7 separate regions of the Homo sapiens genome follow, and regions 2, 3, 4, 5, 6 and 7 are each linked to region 1. Evidence: promoter capture Hi-C in 16 types of primary human blood cells and fetal thymus (Javierre and others, 2016). All regions are on one chromosome and are shown on one strand. The core of a region is centred on a gene start or on the middle of the fragment in contact, and the rest is flanking DNA. Distances in the headings are between cores, read along the strand shown. Region 1 holds the start of MSMO1 (methylsterol monooxygenase 1). Region 2 overlaps CLCN3 (chloride voltage-gated channel 3). Region 3 holds the start of NEK1 (NIMA related kinase 1). Region 4 overlaps CLCN3 (chloride voltage-gated channel 3). Region 5 has its middle 9.1 kb from the start of HPF1. Region 6 holds the start of MFAP3L (microfibril associated protein 3 like). Region 7 has its middle 9.1 kb from the start of CBR4-DT.

Region 1 (2,729 bases), core at 66-2,565:
AGGCACATGAACTCACTCAACAGGTCCAAAGGTTCAGTATGTGCTCCTCACAACCCCCGCCCAAATACTAGGCCTCCTTTAATGCCTAATTCTCAGACATAACGTTTTAAGTCTCTCCCATTCTGCTGCCTTAAGTCTTCAAACTCTTACCCAATTTAGAAACACTTGGTTTAGTTAACATTCAGGAATTTACTTTTCACAAAGGAGCGAGGGAATGGATATACTGTTGCTAACCGAACAAGGAATTAAAGAGGAGAGGGGAAACAAGGTCTTGGAAAATTGAATTTCCTTTTCCTTTACTCATTCTTGGGCAACCTAAATGACTGGAAGCCTGTTCTGGAACAGGTTGACTAGATAAATTTAGTTATTTGTGGATTCTCAGAAACCTTGAAGTTTAGCTGTCAGCCAGTCTCTGTCCTTTGGCACTTTAACACGGATTTCACCAGCTCCTTCATTTTCTGGACTTGCCCTGCCTCCAAGCTTGCCCTTCCTAAACCTTATTTCTAAGATGCAATGCCACGATCTATATAAATTTAAACATCAGAGATAACCTCCTTAAAACACTCAAAGTTCAAGGGAGTGCTTGCCCTAAGCATAAAGATCAAGCCCCGCTGTGATTGATGCACACGAGGCCCTTCCAGACTTCTTCACTCTTCATTTCTTACATTCTCGCCATCCTACACTTCACATTTTTGCAGTATCTGATCACTCATGGTTGCTACTGCTTCATTCCTCTCTGCCCACGGAAATATCGTTCCCTTACAGGTGATGTCCTCCCATTCAACTCCTAGTCATCCTTCAGTAACCTCCTCTCGGACGCCCTTCCCAACCCCACTACTCCCAAAGCACACTACATCTTACCTCCTTCTAGTGGTTCCTGCTTTTGTATAACTTTCGCCAGCCTATCACCCTGTGCTGCAACTATCTTCTACGTCCTGTCTCCCGAAGACAACACATTTTAAAGGGCAAGAAACATGCCCTAGCCTAGTTCCATCACTTAAGAATTTCACTCCGTTTTCATCCTTTCTAGCACGTACCTTAGCCTAGGCCCACCTTCACTCCAGTCTCCTTCCGCCCCGTCTCGGGTACCACTGCCAGCGTCCCGCCCAGCGCGTGCATCCGCACCCAGAACCCGCTCCCCTCGATCTCACGGAGCACCGGGTGGGAGCCCGCCTGCTCCCCCTTCCTCGCTCATGAGCCACTCCTCCAACCCCCTCACCTGAACGGCCGCGAGATGACTGCCGGCCACCGACACCGAGGACTCGCCAGGTGTTCCAACCTCGGAACCTGCCTCGCCTGGCTTGGGGGTGGAGCCGGGTGGGCCAGGCGGCCCGTCCTGTCGTTATTGGCCTGCGAGAGCTCCCGCCCCGCCTTCTCGGCGCGGTGATTGGTCTGTGCAGTTGCCGACATCGTGTGACTCGCGCGAACGAGCTCCTGGCGGTCCCAGCCATTGGCTCCGCGGATGGAGTGAGGATAGTGAGACCTGCAGAGCCAGCCAATGGTCGGCACCGCGGAGCGCCCGGAGGCGGGGAAGCGTGAGAGCGCGCCACGGCGTGAGGGGGCGGGCACAGACGGATGGCCGCCTCGCCCTGCAGCGCGGAGTCGCCTTGGCAACTGCGGTCCCGGCAGATTCCCAGTGAGAGCCTGCGCTGTGCGGGGGAGAGTGTCGCGCCGGCCGCCGTCCCAGGACTTTTATTTCAAATGTGACCTGTGTAGCAACCGCAGTTCCCAAACCCGGGAAGAAGAGAGTATAGATGAGTCTTAAAATCTATGTTGACTGTTTTGTGTTTCCAGACACCCTTGCCTTCCTTTTTCTGGTCTACCATTTAGATTTAGATCTTTCGTCTCCCTTGTTTCCCCAGCCTACGTATCCTTTAATAAATTCCTGCATTTTGAAAACGGAGAATTTCAAATGCGATTATCGTCATTTTGCAGATGAGAAATAAAGGCTGGGAAAGATTTAAAAAGATTGAACATCAAGGGAGAGTTCGGCTCCCAGGACCTTGACCTCGCTACATGGGCAGAGAACGCCCAGGTGTTGTTGCAATTGTTGTGCTGGACGATGAGTGCCCGGGGGCGGGGGCGGGGGCGGGGGCTTGACGCAGGTCTTTGCAGCTCTAAAGCTCAGTTTACACCATCTCTCAACATTAAAATATTGTGTACTGGGGTTTAATAATAAAACTGTACAGATGTGATAATATACTAAAACTTTCACTTAACGGAAGAGGTGCCTTTAAAGAAAAAACCGCACAGGGGCATCATTTGGGCTAGTGAAGGCCCTTTTTCCTCCTTCTTTATTAAGGTATAATTGACAAAAATTGTGTTTACGGCGTACACATGTTTTGATTATGTGTATATTGTGTCAAATATATACAGCTTCTGAAAACAGAATACTATTGTTTCATTCCTCCATGCTTTTGCTCAAACTGGCCCTTCTGCCTGGAATAATCAGCCATCTCCATGCCGCCCCATCAATTCAGGTACTATCTCCTTGAGGAAGTTCCCTCTTGAAAAGTGTCTTTTTTAGATTCAGTGTGACCTGTACTTATTCGTCTATCCCTCATGTTTGGCACACACATTCTTTGTAAAGTATCATGACAGCGGTCACGTCAAATGAAAAGAAATGGGATCTGTCCCTTGGTTGTCAGAGTCAGCCCTGTCTTTAGGATGCCTTTACAGTGGTGTCTGAAACCATGCCTATATACTTTATGAAGTTAATCTGGGAAAAA
Region 2 (2,755 bases), core at 3-2,502, 4.3 Mb before region 1:
AAGATTTTTGTGAAGAACACAGACACTCTGTTTTTATTTCTTTACAGAATAGAAGGGCTTAATACATATGATAACATTTCAGTGAACATTAGCTAGAGGCTACACAGCACTAAGAAATCTCTGTAAAATCATTAAACCTTTTTATGTGTTAATACTTCAATCAGCAAATTCCAATATATCTCCTCCATTTTATCCCTAAAAGTCTCTCAAAAATCGTAAGTGGTAACTGGAAATTTAACTATTTCCGTTAAAAAAATTAATTTCATAATACCTTTGAGACACCTAGCCTGCAGATCATTCTTTGTAACACAAGCATGCAACTCTGCTCCAAATAAACCAATTAAACCCAGGCCTGCATGGGTTTCTATTTCTATAAATTTGATAACTTAAGATAAAAAAAAAAAACTATTCCACGTATTAACCCAGAAACCTATAGAGCTGTACTGACTGATGCAGCAGCCAGCATACATACGGCTATCGAGCCATTGAAACATGGCTGGTCCAAACTGAAATGTGCTCTAAGTGTAAAATACCTACCAGATTTCTAAGACTTAATATTTAAAAAGGATGTCAAATATTTGACTAGAAATTTTATACTGATTACATGTTGAAATATTTTAGATCCATTGGGTTAAATAAAATATATTTGAAATGAATCTCACCACTTTCTTTTTACCTTTTTAATGTGGCTACTGAAAAATTAAAAATTACCTATGTGGCTTGCATTTGCAGCACTAACACTTTTATTGAACAGCACTGCTATAAAATATTCAAATTTCTATAGTAGCATAAAGGACATATAACAGAAGGAAATCTGAACACTAGTGTTAAATATTTTCAGGTTCTAAACCCAATTCCCAGGCTTGGGCACAAAAGGCTATTTAGACTCTAACACAGCAGATGAAATTTTACATATTTAAAAAAAATAATGCAAAGTCACCTTTTCCATTTTAATCACCAAAAATATACTTATAATCATTTCAAAACATTGTAATAGATACACAGTAGCTTGTAAATATATTCTTACAAAATTATAAAAATTAGAGATAAGCTGGGTGTGGTGGCGCATGCCTGTAGTTCCAGCACTTTGGGAGGCCGAGGCAGCTGGATCGCTTGAGGTCAAGAGCTCAAGACCCACCTGGCCATGGTGGTGAACCCCATCTCTATTAAAAATAAAAAATTAGCCGGGCGTGGTGGCAGCCGCCTGTAACCCCAGCTACTAAGGAGCCTGAGGCATGAAAATCGCTTGAGCCAGAGAGGCGGCAGTTGCAGTGAGCTGAGATTATGCCACTGCACTCCAGCCTGGGAAACAGAGTGAGACTCTGTCTCAAACAAAGTAATAATAATAATCAGAGATAAACTATGAAAACTTCCAGTAATAAGGCCTCGTTTACCTAATAAATTCCTATATTATCTACGTGCAATTATTTTGCTTCCTTCGAATCTGATGACACTGCAGCCAGCACAGTTTTTTTTTCCAAAAAGTAAGTTTGCTCATAATCTCTCTCCATTCCATGTTAACATCTCTTAATCATTTCCTGCTACCCTTAAGAAACAAACTCTTTAATATAGCAGAAAAAGTTCTATGCAGCCCAACCCCTGCTAGTTCCCCAGCACTTTTTTTTTTTTTTTTTTTTTTTTTTGAGATGGAGTCTCGCTCTGTCACCCAGGCTGGAGTGCAGTGGCGCGATCGCTGCTCACTGCAAACTCCGCCTCCTGGGTTCAGGCCATTCTTCTGCCTCAGCCTCCCGAGTACCTGGGACTACAGGCGCCCGCCACTGCGCCCGGCTAATTTTTTGTGTTTTTAGTAGAGACGGGGTTTCACCATGGTCTCAATCTCCTGACCTCGTGATCCGCCCGCCTCGGCCTCCCAAATTGCTGGTATTACAGGCCTGAGCCACCGCGCCTGGCCCCAGCTTCTTTTAATAGCCATTCTGACTGGCGTGAGATGGTGTCTCACTGTGGTTTTGATTTCCATTTCGCTAATCATTAGTGATGTTGAGCATTTTTTCACATGCTTGTTGGCCAGTTGTATATCTTACTTTGAGAAGTATGTACTTCCTGAAGTACTCTAGACTCACTGATCTTTCAATCTCTCAGTCCTATCAAGCTCTTTCCTGACTCCTGCCCCAAGGCCTTTGTTGCTCCCTCTGCCTGGATCATACCCTCTTCTCTTTAACAACTCACTCTCTTAATATTTTGTTGAAGGTTTTTACATCTATGTTCATCAGGGATATTGACCTGTACTTTTCCTTTTTCATTGTGTCTTTGCCAGGTTTTGGTATCGGGGTGAAGCTGGAATGAGTTAAGGAGGAGCCCCTCCTCATTTTTTGGAGTCGTTTCAGTAGAATTGGTACCAGCTTTCTTTGTACATCTGATAGAATTCAGCTATGAATACATCTGGTCCAGGGCTTTTCTGGTTGGTAGATTTTTTATTACCGATTCCATTTTGGAACTCGATATTGGTCTGTTCAGGATTTCAATTTCATCCTGATTTAATCTTGGGAGGCTGTTTCCAGAATTTACCCATTTCCTCTAGATTTTCTAGTTCGTGTTTACAGATGTGTTCATAATAGTCTCTGGGGATCTTTTGTATTTCCATGGGATTGGTTGTAATGTCACCTTTGTTGTTTCTGATTGTGTGGTGATTTGGATCTTGTCTCTTTCTCTGTTAATCTAGCTAACGTCTGACAAAGGTCTAATATCTACAATCTACAAGAAGCAAACAATTCAACAAGCAAAAAACAACATTATT
Region 3 (2,700 bases), core at 142-2,641, 4.3 Mb before region 1:
AAACCAGAAAGGGAAATCAGGTAATCTTCTTAGGTAACCTGCTTTATTTACTCATCAATATATCAATGGTATCTTTGTATGTCAATAAAGTAGATCTTGATTACTCTTTTAAATGGCTTTAGAGTATTTCATTGTTTGGATATATTATAATTTAATCAATTCTTTATTGTTATACATTTACAGTATTTCTAGTTTTTCTGGTTATAAACAATAACGGTTATCCTTGTATATAAATCATTGCTCACTTGTTCCAGAAGTTAAATTGCTGAGTCAAAGGATATGCATACTGCTAGCATACCTTCTAGAAAGACTGTAGCAGTTTGTAGTCCTACCAATAGTTTATGACATGAGCCTAAAGAATTATCTAAGGAGGTTAGCTGACTAGCCATTCTTCCTGTAAGCAGCAAAAAGAATTTGCTTAGATTAGTAATTGGCAACATTTCACTTCACTTTGATGTACAAAAGGATGTGGGTAGAACTACAATTGTGCATTCAGACATGATAATTCCTACTAACTGGGGGTAGGAGGGCCCACAGGAGTGTAGACTAGAAGTAGAAAGAATGAGGAAAATAAGTCTTTTGTAGCTGTATGGCGATTGAAGAGGAGATAAAACAAACTCTCCAGCTTTTCAGGTTGGGTGACTTGCAGCGCCATCGTCTGGCAAAGCCGCCAAAATCTTTCAATGTCCCTAGGAATAAAGTTGCCCTGAGTAGGGCCACTCAGGATGACGCCAGATGATATCCCTTATTATAGTTTTAGGGGAATCTCTTCCTACCTTCGCCAGTCCTGCAGTGAAAAAATGTACTTAGACTGCTGTACATTTCCAAACCCTTCAACATACAGACAAGTAATTTATACATACATTAGATGTAAAGGTGTAGAAAACCCCATACAGCTTTTTAAAAATATCTCAAGACTTAAACATTCTTCTGTTTCAACCATCCAAGATATAATAGGAAAAGACTTGCTTTTTAAAGCAAAATTGCTCTTTAAAATGTGGCATCCCTAAGTAGTGCGCTTTCATGTAAAATAAAAAAGTCCCTTTCTCGGTGTAGTAGCTGTGGGAAAATTTTATATGCTTTATATTCCAAATTGGTTTCAACTAGTGAGTTCTCTCCCGCATCTCTGCATGACTCTTAACAGCTTTACACTCTCTCCATCCTTTTCATCTCTCCCGTCTCGTCCTTTCTGTCTTCCCGCCTGCAGAGCCCGCCCCTCCCGTCCCTTCGCACAGCACCCCGCCCGCCCCTTCGCACAGCACCCCGCCCGACCCTACGGTTCTAGCCCAGCCTCACTGCTCCTTCCCAGCCGCCTCCGCTGCGTGCCGCCTTCCACGCGCTGACGTCACACGCCAGCGCCGGTGACGCGCCGGCCGCTCTCCCTTAGTCCGCATTCGCTCCAGGGTTTTGGGACCCTAGGTTGCGGAGTCCTTACCCTACCCTGGCCTCTCGAGCAGTTGTCCCCATAACTCGGAATCTAGAGCCGCTGTTGCGAGGCAGGAGCACGTGGCAGTCAAGTAGCTTCCCAGTCCCGAACGCCGCCCGTCCCCACCCCGCCGTGGCCACTAGCAACGACCTCTGTGAAGTTGGAGAGGCGGTAACGGAGGCACTCCCCCTGCTGCACCCCGCCGTTTCTACGGGGCTCAGAAACCAGTTTGTTTGTTTCGTCGGGGTAGTGTCGACCTGTCTTACGGGCGTCGCCCGAGACAGGACGGAGTCAAACCCGTGGTATCAACTGAAGACGAGTGTCAGGTGTGGAGAGTCTCAGTGCCCCCTTTCAGTCTGGACTGTGAGCTGCTGCTGGTTAGACAGTCTTGGTTTCTCTTTCAGGATGTCATTTTCAAAATGCGGGATGGTACCTCTGCTTTATTAAGCCCCGTAGGAAGACTGCCACACCTAGACTGATGCTTATTAGTCATCACCGTTATTCCTACTAACGTCCTGTGTCACTGAGGTGAGTTCCACTTGGGGGAAGGAATGACATGCAAAATGGTAAAAATCATCCTGGAAATGAGATGTGCGTAGAACTGCTTATATTGAGATTACACAGATACCTTAAGTGTTTGCAGGGAAAATACCTTAATCTCATTTAAATGTTAATTCTCTAAGACACTCTGTATTAACAAAGCGATTCTTGGACATTACGGTATTTTTAAAAACTAGAGCGGTAATGGGATTAAAATAATAGGAATCTTAGTATGGATAAGCAAGCATTTGCATTGCTTATGTTGTGTCCAATCTTAAATTACTGATAAATTTTAATTAGGAAGCGAATATGAGTAGTAGTTAGCTGGTTACCCTGTAATCTTAGATTTCTGTTTCCATGATTTGACACAGTTTCCATATGTAAGGCATTAATTGTTGTACTACTTTAAGAGTTTATCATAACTTTTTTTGCAGGCCTATTTTTTGTTCTTTAAGATCTGCTTTAGGAAGCAGAAATATTTTTTATTGCCTTGGTATGTTTCATTAGAAATGTTTATGAAGGATTAAAAGTGGCATCCAATCTAAGTTAATGACCTTTTTTTATGATGCAGCAGTATTGTAGAGCTGATGGAGGGGAGCCAAATTTGGAGAGAAGTAACTCCTTGTTTCTAGTTTACATTTGTCTGGTTTTAGAGGTTCTACAGATCTGTTTCACTTAAAATATCCATTGTTCTAGGTGAAATGTAAGGAGCCTATTTTGTGGGAAAACAGGTT
Region 4 (2,749 bases), core at 185-2,684, 4.3 Mb before region 1:
CAAATGGAAAAACATTCCATGCTCATGGATAGGAAGAATCAATATCATGAAAATGGCCATACTGCCCGAAGTAATTTATAGATTCAACGCTATTCCCATCAAGCTACCATTGACTTTCCTCACAAAATTAGAAAAACCTACTTTAAATTTCATATGGAACCAAAAAAGAGCCCGTATGGCCAAGACAATCCTAAGCAAAAATAACAAAGCTGGAGGCATCATACTACCTGACTTCAAACTATACTACAAGGCTCAGTAACCAAAACAGCATAGTACTGGTACCAAAACACATATACAGACCAACGGAACAGAACAAAGACCTCAGAAATAACACCACACATCTACAATCATCTGATCTTCAGCAAACTTGACAAAAACAAGTAATGGGGAAAGGATTCCCTATTTAATATTAATAAATGGTGCTGGGAAAACTGGCTATCCATATGCAGAAAACTGGAACTGGACCCCTTCCTTACACCTTATACAAAAATTAACTCAAGATCGATTTGAGGCTTAAATGTAAAACCCAAAACCATGAAAACCTAGGCAATACCATTCAGGACATAGGCACTGGCAAAGACTTCATGACTGAAACACCAAAAGCAATGGCGACAAAAGCCAAAACAGACAAATAGGATCTAATTAAACTAAAGAGCTTCTGCACAGTAAAAGAAACTATCATCAGAATGAACAAGCAACCTACAGAATGGGAGAAAACTTTTGCAATCTATCCATCTGACATAGGTCTAATATCCAGAATCTACAAGGAACTTAAACAAATGTACAAGAAAAAAACAAACAACCCCATCAAAAAGTGGGCAAAGTATATTAACAGACACTTCTCTGTTCATAAAAAGGAGACATTTATGCGGCCAACAAACATACAAAAAGACTAATAACAGTCAAAACTTTTGAATTCAAAAGATGGGTTTCTGGGTTTCAAAAAGCTTTAAGTAAAAAGGCTTAGGGGTTTCTGCAACAAGCCTGATGAAGAACCAACTTTACCTAACTATATGAGGATTGCTGGGGAGGAGAAAAAAGGGAATCAAGTAAACAAGAGGTTAGAACTATTAAACTGGTGACTGGCTTCAGCCTTTTATATTTTCTATAAGTGAGATACAGGTAAGATCATACTAGCCACACTTAAAAGTTGATTTTTTTATTCATACTTCCTAAAAATTATTTCACATCATTAAATGCACATGCACATTTTCTGTGACTTCAGATAACTATATTTGTCATAACATATTATAATTTATTCATTTTACTTTATTTTTTTAGAGATGGGGTCTTGCTCTGCCACCTAGGCTGGAAAGCAGTGGTGGAAACATAGCTCACTGTAGCCTCAAACCTAGGCTCAAGCAATCATCCTGCCTCAGCCTCCCAAGTAGTTGGGACTGCAGGCAAGCACCACCACACCTGGCTACATACTACAATTTAAACAAATCTTCAGGTTGGTTTGCCATTATGAACATTATCTAACATATATGTATCTGCTCAGCCATCCTCTTTTCCAGTTAATTTTTACGATTTTAAGTCTTTTCTTATTCTCGACTTTTTCTCCAACCCCACTACCAGATATCCAATACTAATAACCAGGTATATTTCCAAACTTAAAATAATCATATTATCCATTTATTATCGTCACATTAGGTTTATTATTTATGTAATAGAACCTGATTGTTTTGCCCACTTGGTATCTCCTTCCCCTTCTTCCTATAACAGAACCCAATTATTTTAAGGAAACTTCTGTCCCTCACTGCATGCAGTCCTGGTGAAGGTATCAATCAAGATACCTTCTCCTCCCCAGCTAAAGAAAACACATAGATCCAAGTTAGACCAATCAAACTGTGGCTCCTAGAAATGTAAATCTTGAGCACAGTGTTAATCAGAACCAATTAATTTTAACAGCTGAAGCTTCAAGAGGACTTAGGATAATTCCATAGTTTCTGCTACCTAAATATCCAGCTCTTGGATGATAAGAAAGTATGACCTGAAAGTTAGTAGCTTCCAAGTTTAAGACAAAAAAAAAAAAAAATCAAAAACTTTTTTGGAGGGCTGACTACCGGATGCCAGTGACTACTATTCTACTACCTAACTCTACTATCTCCTGGCTGAAAAACAGTAACAAAAAAGACTGGAAAAAAGATCACTTTTCTTCCAGGTGGCCTAGTAGAGAAATTCCATGACTTTACTGCACTTTGAGGTCAGAAAGACCTAGAGTCAAATTCCAGCCCTGCCTCCCGTTAGTTCTGTGATCCAGCGCAAGTTACTTATTAACCTCTTTGAGTACCTTGGTTTTGTTACCCACTTCTACTAGAGTATTGTATGTGGACTGGAGACAAATTATGTAAAACATTTAATACTATACTTGACAGATAGTAGAAAAACAATAAACACAAGCTATTATTTCTGCTCAAATATTTGGGTATTTAAAATTTCATCAGGAAAGCCACGTGTAGTGGTGCACACCTGTAGTCCCAGCTAATCAGGACGCTGTGGCAGGAGGCTATATCATCTGAGCCCAGGAGTTCAAGGGAGCCTGGGAAACACAGTGAGATCTCATCTCTATTTAAAAAACAAATAACAAACAAAAAACAACCCCCTCTCACACACACAATTCAGCATGTTGCATTATATTACTCATATGACTAAGTTATAATATCGCTTAACCAAAAGACTAACAATATGACAAAGACAGCAAAAAAAAAAAAAAAAAAAAAAATGTCTGGCCGGGCGCGGTGGCTCA
Region 5 (2,947 bases), core at 363-2,862, 4.4 Mb before region 1:
TTCCATTTTCTTTTCTTCTTTTCCAACATCTTTATTTTACAGTTTGAGAAACTGTTTCAGAACAATTGAGTGATTGCTCAAGATTTCTGAGCAGACAAATGCAAGGATGGGACTAGAACCTGGGTTTGCCAATCTTTCGTCCAATGCATTTTGTAAAACCTGACCTTCAGGTTATAACTCTGAAGGGGCTGAAGACAAGTAGAATGGAGATAAATCAGATAAGCCCTGACTTTTTTATCCTACCATGTGTAGGTTATTCCCAAGCAGCAGTGCCCTTAACTCATGCCAATGGGAAAATAACATATGCTCTTTTTATTTTGTCTCTGTTTATTTATTTATTTTAAAACGTTTTTATTTTACTCTCCTTCCCCACCCCCACCTTATTGAGATATAATTGACAAATAAAAATTCTATATAGTTAAGGTGTACAACTTGATGTTTTAATATACATATATTTTTGTGAAATTATCACCATAATCAAGCTAATTAACATAGCATCACCTCACACAGTACCTTTGTGTGTGTATGTGGTTAGAACATGTAAGATCTGCCCTCCTAGCAAATTTTAAATATGCAATACAATATTCTTAACTGTAGTCACAATGTGGTACATTGTTTTGTTCAATTTCAGACTGCCTTGTTTACAAAGCAATTTGGGAATATGGATTATGACACTAAGTTTATTCCTGTCTGTGAAGCCAGCAGTTCCTCTAAGAATTTAAACTAAGGTAATATTCCAAAATATTTTTTAAAACCTTATGTACAAAAATGTTGACCACAGGGTTATACATAGCAATAAAAAGTTATGACACACAGTAAAAACTTATAACTACGAGAACAGTTACTTTATCAAACATTTGTCCAATGGCATATTTATGTAGCCATTAAAATATTGATGAAGCATTTTTACAATGTTTATTTGTTATTAAGCTTACTTTTTAAGGCCTATTACCAAATTTTATGTGCAGCATTATTTCATTTAACAAACTATAATAAGATACATGTAGAAAAATACTGAATATACCAAATATTGTCTGAGGCTACATCTAGGTGGCATAATATAATTAATTTTCTTTTTATTTTTAGATAGTATTCAAATTTTCTAAAATTATTACTACTTTTTATAGAGACAGGGTCTTGCTATGTTGCCCAGACTGGTCTCAAACTCCTGGATTTAAGTGATCCTCCCACCTCAGCCTCCCAAAGTGCTGGGATTACAGGAATAACCCACTGCACCCAGCCCTAAAATTAAGTATAACTTTATATTCAGAAATTAAACACATAACTTGGAAGGTGAGGAGAATGACCTTATACAAGGCAATTACTCAATAGTAATATCCTGTTGGATCCTTCTAGTAACTGCTCCCTACATTCCCAGCTCCTGTTTCCTTGGCTATTTTCCACAATCTTGATCTCAGTTGCTGCTTTTGATGTTCCCTTGTAACATCACCTCGCAAACTCCTCATATTACCTGAGCTTGCTCTCTACCATATCGCCCTTTGTTGTGTCACTTCTTATTTCCTGGTGGTAACACTAGTCGTTCAGAATTTTTGCTCTGATCAACTCTGTGATAGTCACAGAGTAAAATGATTAGATCAATTCTTTTAAAGAGACTACTCTGGAGCAATGTGTCTGGAAGGTTGGAGTGTGATAAAGACTTACATAATTCTTACACTGCTTCTATGTGACTAGCAGGAATACTGACTGTACATTTATAGGACTCCTCAGTACACTATAAGCTCCTGGAACATAGCAACTGTGTCATCTTGGTCTTTTCAGTGCCTAACATAGTTCTGACACATAATTGGGACTTAATAAATGTTCTGAATGAACAAATAACTGAATGGATGAAAGGATGGGCAAGTAACTATTTAATGATGGTGACTGCTATTCATTAAAGAGGTCGATAAGCCAATTAATATTTACTGAGCACCCATTATGTGCCAGTTTGTGCTCAGAGCTAGATTCTAAGAAATTGTGGTAGGAAAAGAATTGGCGAATCAGCTGGAATTTTCATCCACTGTAAATATGAAGACTGGAGAACCTCTGGGGCCTTTCAAAGATGTGTTTGGATCATCCAACTAGTGCTAATTAAGGGTTACATGGTCCCAGAGTAACTGATCTGGATTAAGCATAATTGGGCAGACCAGTTTCACCACCATTTAGCTGTATAATTTGCCAGAGTCAAAGTGGCCAAAGGTAAGGCCAAGAGTGCAGTGTCAAAGATTAATGCTACAGCTCATTTGCAGCCCATCAATAACAATTGTCTAGGATCAGCTCTGCCTGAAGCTTCTGCTAACTTTTATACAGCAAATTAGAAAAAAAGTTTATCCTTCCCAAATCTGTTTCTTCTGCAATACAATCACCCATATCTCCCAAATTAGGTCCCCCTGCTATGAATAGCCCCTAAAAGAAGTCCTATTTTACAGCCTATTTGGGAATCAGAATCATAAGGCTATGGGGGCTCTGGGCCTTCTCAAAGCTGATTTATCCTCCAGGGTTGGCCAACAGCGTGAGTCACAGGACTCAGCTCAATCCTGACTGCCAGAGTGAATGACTTCCATCATTTAGAACCTTAGAAATTCAATTGGATAAGCCTGTAATTCCTTACACATGTGCTGCTCTATGTGGTTATTCTGCCCTGAATACACGTTAATGCTGAATGTCTGGCTACACTCTCAAGTCCTGGGATCCTAAGTGGCATCTTGTCTTGTCTTTAATTTTCAGCAGCTCTCATAACAAAGGCAGAAAGAAATGCTTAAGAAGCTAGCTATGACATCTATGGCCTTCAAAGTGCACAAAGATTGAAAAAAAAAGAAAAAACTTGTAAAAATATTCTCTTTTTTTTTTTTTTTTTGAGACAGAGTCTTGCTCTGTTGCCCAGGCTGGAGTGCAGTGGTGGGATCTCGGCTCACTGCAGCCTCTGCTTCTCAGGTTCAAGTGATTC
Region 6 (2,770 bases), core at 69-2,568, 4.7 Mb before region 1:
TGCCGCTGTCAAAGGGGTGTTAGCTGGTATGTTCTCACATGGCCATGCGAGGTGTTCATTTCTGGAATCCTTTCTGGTTGATCAGGCAGTTGTTCTGATAGGTCAGCGTCTTCCCTTTATCCATACTATTTGTGTGTGTGTGTGTGTATATATATATATTTATTATTTTTGAGATGGAGTCTGACTCTGTTGCTCAGGCTGAAGTGCAGTGGCGCAATCTCTGCTCACTACAACGTCTGCCTCCCAGATTCAAGCGCTTCTCTTGCCTCAGCCTCCCAAGTAGCTGGGACTACAGGCACACACCACTATGCCTGGCTAATTGTTTTGTATTTTTAGTAGAGACTAAAAATCTCTGTGAAAGATTTTTGAAAGATTAATGTCATGACAGACTCAGGAACAGAAAGCTTCAGATGGATGGAAGTGGCAGTACAGACTGTTGAAAAGACATCTTGTCCACCTTTGTAAGGCTAGACTATTTGTGGTGTGGATGTCAAGGGGTACCTGGGCAAGTTCAAGGGCACTGCTCAGGGCATACCAGCAACAATGGATTCTCAAAGCACAGGAGGAGGATGAAGGGGACACTCCAGCACAAGCTAGGATTCCATGGTGGAAGCAGCTAAGTAAATGTATTCTTCCAGGAGTGACCTTCCATAGAGATAGTGTCTCTGACCACGCTGAAGCTGAACTGGAGCTGGGCAAGGCAGAGAGGTTCAAATGAAGGGTGACTCCCACTATCACACCAAGCCCCACTGGGCAGCTGACCTGCCTGCCCATCCTCCTCCTCCTTAGACAGAAAACAGCGAATTCCATTCGCCTTTCTGCTCTCAATGAAAGGCTCTCTTTGGGTTCTTTACTAATCTACAATCTGTAAAAGTACTTTCCCTGTGACTTTTCTCCATTTCAGTACTGTCTTCTCTAAATGAGAATTAAAAGCAAGTTCCCCACACCGACCTCAAGTGGTTTCTAAGATAGCAAGAGTGCATTTTGCAGGTTGTCTGAGAATTTAAAAGAGATGGGGGAGGGGAGGAAATAGAGTCAGAGTGAATGCAGAAATGCTGGAGAAGAAAACGGGATATAATACTGCGGAATATTTTAATAGTGGGGACACAAATGTCATAATTAATAAAGCAGGTGGAAAGTTCGCGCTGTGGTGCAATTGTAAAGAATGCTTATTAAATACTTAAAAACAAAGAAAATTTACGTTTCTCAAAAGGACAGCTGAAAAATTCCTTGAGCTAAAATGTGTTGCTATTCAAGATGCCATAAAACTAATGTTAAAATATGATATCTCATTTCAATCTTTTTGGGGGAAAAAATCAGGCTTTGACTCACTCATACGACAGATCCCACGCACCCACCCACCAACATGGCCCTTGGCATGGGCGACCTGCCCACGTGTCGATGCAATCGTGCCTCTCTAGAGCCCTGCTTCCATCCGTTTCCCGAGCTTCGATGTCGTGACGAGAGACCGCGGCTACATCAACCTTGGGCAACCAGATGCAGCCGCGTGCGGCAGCCTGGCACTGCCCGGAGCATGCTCAGTCGGGTCCTGACCCACTTCTGCAGGTCCGACCTCGGGGCGTGGGGTCAGAGGCACTACTTTGCCAGTTTGCCAGGAACAGAGAGGAGCAGAGAGACTGAGAGTTGCTAAAGCTCCTCTCTTGGCACAGCAATGCCTGACCCGGCGGCGGAACATGCCCAGTCTGGCTGCCGGAGCCGCCGGGAGCGTCAATGTGGAAAGTCCACCTTTCCGGGTTTTCGCAGCAACCCACCGGGAAGAGGGCGGTACGGGAGTAAAAAGGCCGGAGTGGGGTGTGGCCAAGAGGGCGGGCACTAAAAAGCCGGGGGAAGGAGCCTGGTCCCGCCCCAGAAATTGAGAGTCTCTGTTCTCTTTTAAAATTAAAAAAAAAAAAAAAAAAAGGGAGATAAGGAGGAGAAGAAGCCACTAACATTGCAGGATCGTGTAGCGAAACTTCTGTAGGTACTTAATAATTTTAGAGTACTCTACTTTTTAATTAAAAAATCAACTTATGGTTCATTAGAAAAAACGTGGAAATTACAAATAATATTTTTAAAGAAAATGAAAAAAAAATTCCTGGAACCCCACCACTCAGAAAGTCACCAGGGAACGGCCCGCTGGGTTTTTTTCCAGACTCTTCCATCTGTGGACTTTGCTTTAAGAGACGTTTAAGACTTACAGCGCAGTCGCCCGGGAAGGCCTGAGAAGCTTTCGGAAGCAAGGTGGTTTGCTCGTGATTGCATTTGATTGCAAGGAGACAGGGTAGGCTTGGGGGTGGGTTGACTGGTTCCCATTTAGCGCCCCAGGATGGGACCCTAAGAAGCCTTTTCCTGGGTGTCCTTGAACACGCGTGCGATGCGACGCCCACAGAAGTTGCGGTGGAAGCCCCGGGCGGGAGAGAGAGCGGAGTGAGAGTCCCGCGCTGCCGCGGAGGCCCTGGGCCTGCGGGTGTGGGGCTCTGGGGGCCGCCGAGGCCCGGCCCAGAGGCTGAGCGGACTGAATGCGGGACTCCCCGGCAACTACAGCCTCCGGTGGCTCCTCCGCGGGGCCGCTCCGCAGCACCGACTGGCTCGCGCCGCACCGCCCGCCCCGCTGCCCCCGCCCGCGGCTGCCGCGAAAACCCGGCGGCTACACCCGCGCCTCCGCGCCGCCCGGCGAGCCGCACTGGGCATGCTCGGCCCCGGCCGGCCCAGGCTCCTGTAGGTGGGAAGCTCCGCGCTCCCGGCAGCCGGCGGCGCAGCTCGCAACGCT
Region 7 (2,925 bases), core at 376-2,875, 3.7 Mb before region 1:
TGGACTTAATAAAAAAAGAAGAAAGAAAATTATATTTCACAACTGTATTGGTATAAAGGTGAATATATTAATATTATACATTAGACGTTTTGTCCAACCTAAAAGAAAAAATAAAAGTATTGGTTAAACACAAAAATAGGCCAGATACGGTGACTTACACCTGTAATCCCAGCCCTTTGGGAGGCCGAGGCATGCAGATCGCTTGAGTCCAGGAGTTCGAGATGTGTTTGGGCAATATAGTGAGATCCTATCTCTACAAAAAAATACAAAAAAATTAGCCAGGCATGGTGGCATGCGCCTGAGGTCCCAGCTATTTGGGAGGCTGAGATGAGAGGACTGTATGAGCCCAGGAGGTCAAGGCTACAGTGAGCCAAGATTGAGCCACTGCACTCCAGCCTGGGTGACAGAGCGAGATCCTATCTTGAATAAATAAATAAATAAATAAGACAAAAATAAAAAATAAAACAAAGCGAGAGGAAAGAAAAACATTCCATGTCTTCCCTGTGTCATCTATGCTATTGCTGTTAGGCTGGTGTGTGTTAACATCTCTTCTTCATAGATACGATGAGGATGAGACACCCCTATGGTGATTCATGTCCAATACACACTGCTTTGCATGTGTATCTATTTCTGTTGGATTCACCACTTCATCAATAGCTTCAAAACGTCTCCCAGAATTCCACATAAGTCCAGACTTGTGCTAAAAAGGAAAATGAGGATGTAATAGATGCTAACAGGGAAATACGCTTTATTATGTTATTCTGAGGACTGGAACTTTAGAAATATATTTGAGGATAATCTTTTACAAATAAATAAACTTGTTCAGGTTGAACCCTCAGACCTCAGATATATATTTTTAATACATTGATTTGAAAGAAATGGAAGTTAGAAGCCAGAATTTATTGATTTATTTACTTTTATTATTATTATTTTTTTGAGATGGAGTCTTGCTCTGTTACCCAGGCTGGAGTGCGGTGGTGCGATCTCAGCTTACTGCAACCTCCGCCTCCTGGGTTCAAGTGATTCTCCTGCCTCAGCCTCCTGAGTAGCTGGGATTACAGGCACGTGCCCCATGCCCGGCTAATTTTTGTATTTTTTTGTAGAGACAAGGTTTCACCATGTTGGACAGGATGGTCTCAAACTCCTGACCTGAAGTGACCCACCCACCTCGGCCTCCCAAAGTGCTGGGCTTATAGTCATGAGCCACCATGCCAGACCCAGAATTGTGACTGACATATTTTGTGTGAGATACAAGAAGTAAGGAATATCAGAAGAAAAACAAAAACAGAAGAAAATGTTTTCTGACCTGAGAAACCAGAATAATAATATAAGGCAAGTCTCTCAATAGTGATGGCTAAACTATGGCTGTCTGATGCATAAGTCCAGAATGCCTATTTCCTATTGAAAGGAGGTGCTACTAATTATTAATAATTGTAAGGCGATGGCATCGTGCTAAGTATTTTATATAGGATCAACCTATCTTATGGCTGTCAATAACCTCATGCCAGTATTATTTTCCCTATTTTTTGCATAAAGAAATCTTAACCCAGAGAGTTTAATAACTTGCCCAAGATTACACAGCTTGTGGTAGAGCCAGAATTCAAATTCAGTAGACTAAACCCAGAGTTATATATGATGCTATATTGCCAGTTTTATATATATTTATGGAATTTTGCCTGAAACAGTTAGAGTGTATGTTGTGAATGAAAAGTATTCATGTTGTCATCTGTCACTTTTTTTATTTTTGGAGACAGGGGGTCTCTGTCTGTCACCCAGGCTAGAGTGCTGTGGCATGGTCACAGCTGACTGCAGCCTAGACCTCTTGGGCTCAAGCAATCCTCCCACCTTAGTCTCCCAAGGAGCTAGGACCACAGGCACGCACCACTACACACAGATAATTTTTCAATTTTAATTTTGTAGACACAGGGTCTTTCTGTGTTGCCCAGGCTGGTCTCAAACTCCTGAGCTCAAGTGATCTTCCCACCTTGGCCTCCTGAAGTGTTGGGATTACAGGCGTGAGCCATGGTGCCAGGCCTCTGTCACCTTCTAAGCCAATTCTTTTCAACTGATTTATTCCATCTCTATTTAGTAGAAGGGAAAAAGGATACATTCCATAGTTTTGGTTAAGGATCATCTACTTTATACTCATTTATTTAAAATTATTGTGGTTTAATGGCTAGCCTAGTAAATTAGCCAAATAAATTAATATGTCATTTTTAAAAATAAGGTGAATTTTGGCCCATTTTTTCCCACTCATAGGTTATATAGGGACCCATAAATATGTACTCCTCAACTCAGTAAGTTAAGCAAATTATGAGTATTACTTGCCAGAGGGGACTGATTCATATTCCTTATAGGATTGGTGTCTGTTTCACTTCTTAAAAATTCGTATCTCTCTCCTCATACATTATCACCTCCTCTTCCATTTCTCTTCATATTATTATATGTTGGGTGCTGGTTCTGGGACTCACTACTGGTTACTTGGAACAAAACATTTACAGATTTCATGGGGCATTGAGCTCAGCTAATAATATTTGAAAAAGAGAAAAAGGCAGTAGTCTGTTAAGGAGACTAAATGGTGTACATGTTGCATTTAAAACAGAGCTTATTTTGAGCAAAGATCCCCTAGGGGGATGCTGCTTGTATGGTGTATCTGATCTGCTGGGGAGCACATGCCCAGCCAAGCCTCCTTTAATAAGGCCGCCCACACTGAGCCCCTGTGGCAATGGTGCTTGGCTGCGGGTGCACCTTCCGCCTTTGAGCACCCCACTCACTCACATGGCAACCTGCCTCCCCCGAGAACTGCTCTCCACAGGCGCTAATCTATCCCCTCATTAACAACCAATCCAATTCTCTGTCTTGAACAAAGGGAGTCAGAGTTTAATCCCTTGAACTGAAAAGTCCTATGGGGCTCAGCCATTTTCA

What was found. Contacts are between HindIII fragments. The CHiCAGO score rates a contact against its expected background, and 5 or more counts as called.
Region 2: a fragment that was not itself captured here is called in contact with the fragment with the promoter of MSMO1 in region 1 in 4 of 17 cell types (non-activated CD4 T cells, total CD4 T cells, erythroblasts and 1 more); the score reaches 12.0 in non-activated CD4 T cells.
Region 3: the fragment with the promoter of NEK1 here is called in contact with the fragment with the promoter of MSMO1 in region 1 in 5 of 17 cell types (non-activated CD4 T cells, total CD4 T cells, naive CD8 T cells and 2 more); the score reaches 11.9 in non-activated CD4 T cells.
Region 4: a fragment that was not itself captured here is called in contact with the fragment with the promoter of MSMO1 in region 1 in 1 of 17 cell types (naive CD8 T cells); the score reaches 5.0 in naive CD8 T cells.
Region 5: a contact is called between a fragment that was not itself captured here and the fragment with the promoter of MSMO1 in region 1, in 2 of 17 cell types (total CD8 T cells and naive B cells). The highest score is 5.2, in total CD8 T cells.
Region 6: a fragment that was not itself captured here is called in contact with the fragment with the promoter of MSMO1 in region 1 in 9 of 17 cell types (total CD8 T cells, activated CD4 T cells, total CD4 T cells and 6 more); the score reaches 20.9 in total CD8 T cells.
Region 7: a contact is called between a fragment that was not itself captured here and the fragment with the promoter of MSMO1 in region 1, in 5 of 17 cell types (total CD4 T cells, total CD8 T cells, activated CD4 T cells and 2 more). The highest score is 10.4, in total CD4 T cells.

Annotation. Positions count from the first base shown.
Region 1 is chr4:165,326,255-165,328,983 of GRCh38, reverse strand. It overlaps MSMO1 (methylsterol monooxygenase 1), which reads right to left and starts at 1,315. Exons shown (of 6, transcript NM_006745.5): 1 at 1,220-1,315. RefSeq lists an enhancer at 1,017-1,286 and a silencer at 1,377-1,716. The HindIII fragment of the contact is 2,277 bases long and covers 483-2,729 here.
Region 2 is chr4:169,631,605-169,634,359 of GRCh38, reverse strand. All of the region lies in intron 1 of CLCN3 (chloride voltage-gated channel 3), which reads right to left. Among named protein-coding and RNA genes, the nearest start is that of CLCN3, 12 kb to the right of the region's middle. The HindIII fragment of the contact is 6,464 bases long and covers 1-2,755 here.
Region 3 is chr4:169,611,274-169,613,973 of GRCh38, reverse strand. It overlaps NEK1 (NIMA related kinase 1), which reads left to right and starts at 1,391. Exons shown (of 36, transcript NM_001199397.3): 1 at 1,391-1,752; 2 at 1,831-1,954. RefSeq lists enhancers at 1,319-1,378, 1,799-1,918. The HindIII fragment of the contact is 11,256 bases long and covers 1-2,700 here.
Region 4 is chr4:169,668,020-169,670,768 of GRCh38, reverse strand. All of the region lies in intron 2 of CLCN3 (chloride voltage-gated channel 3), which reads right to left. Among named protein-coding and RNA genes, the nearest start is that of CLCN3, 49 kb to the right of the region's middle. The HindIII fragment of the contact is 970 bases long and covers 950-1,919 here.
Region 5 is chr4:169,765,565-169,768,511 of GRCh38, reverse strand. No RefSeq gene overlaps it. Among named protein-coding and RNA genes, the nearest start is that of HPF1, 9.1 kb to the right of the region's middle. The HindIII fragment of the contact is 1,359 bases long and covers 933-2,291 here.
Region 6 is chr4:170,026,371-170,029,140 of GRCh38, reverse strand. MFAP3L (microfibril associated protein 3 like) reads left to right here and starts at 2,746. Exons shown (of 3, transcript NM_021647.8): 1 at 2,746-2,770. RefSeq lists enhancers at 1,521-1,660, 1,650-2,369 and silencers at 1,841-1,910, 2,369-2,768. The HindIII fragment of the contact is 1,823 bases long and covers 407-2,229 here.
Region 7 is chr4:169,018,033-169,020,957 of GRCh38, reverse strand. No RefSeq gene overlaps it. Among named protein-coding and RNA genes, the nearest start is that of CBR4-DT, 9.1 kb to the right of the region's middle. RefSeq lists an enhancer at 2,747-2,925. The HindIII fragment of the contact is 5,591 bases long and covers 1-2,925 here.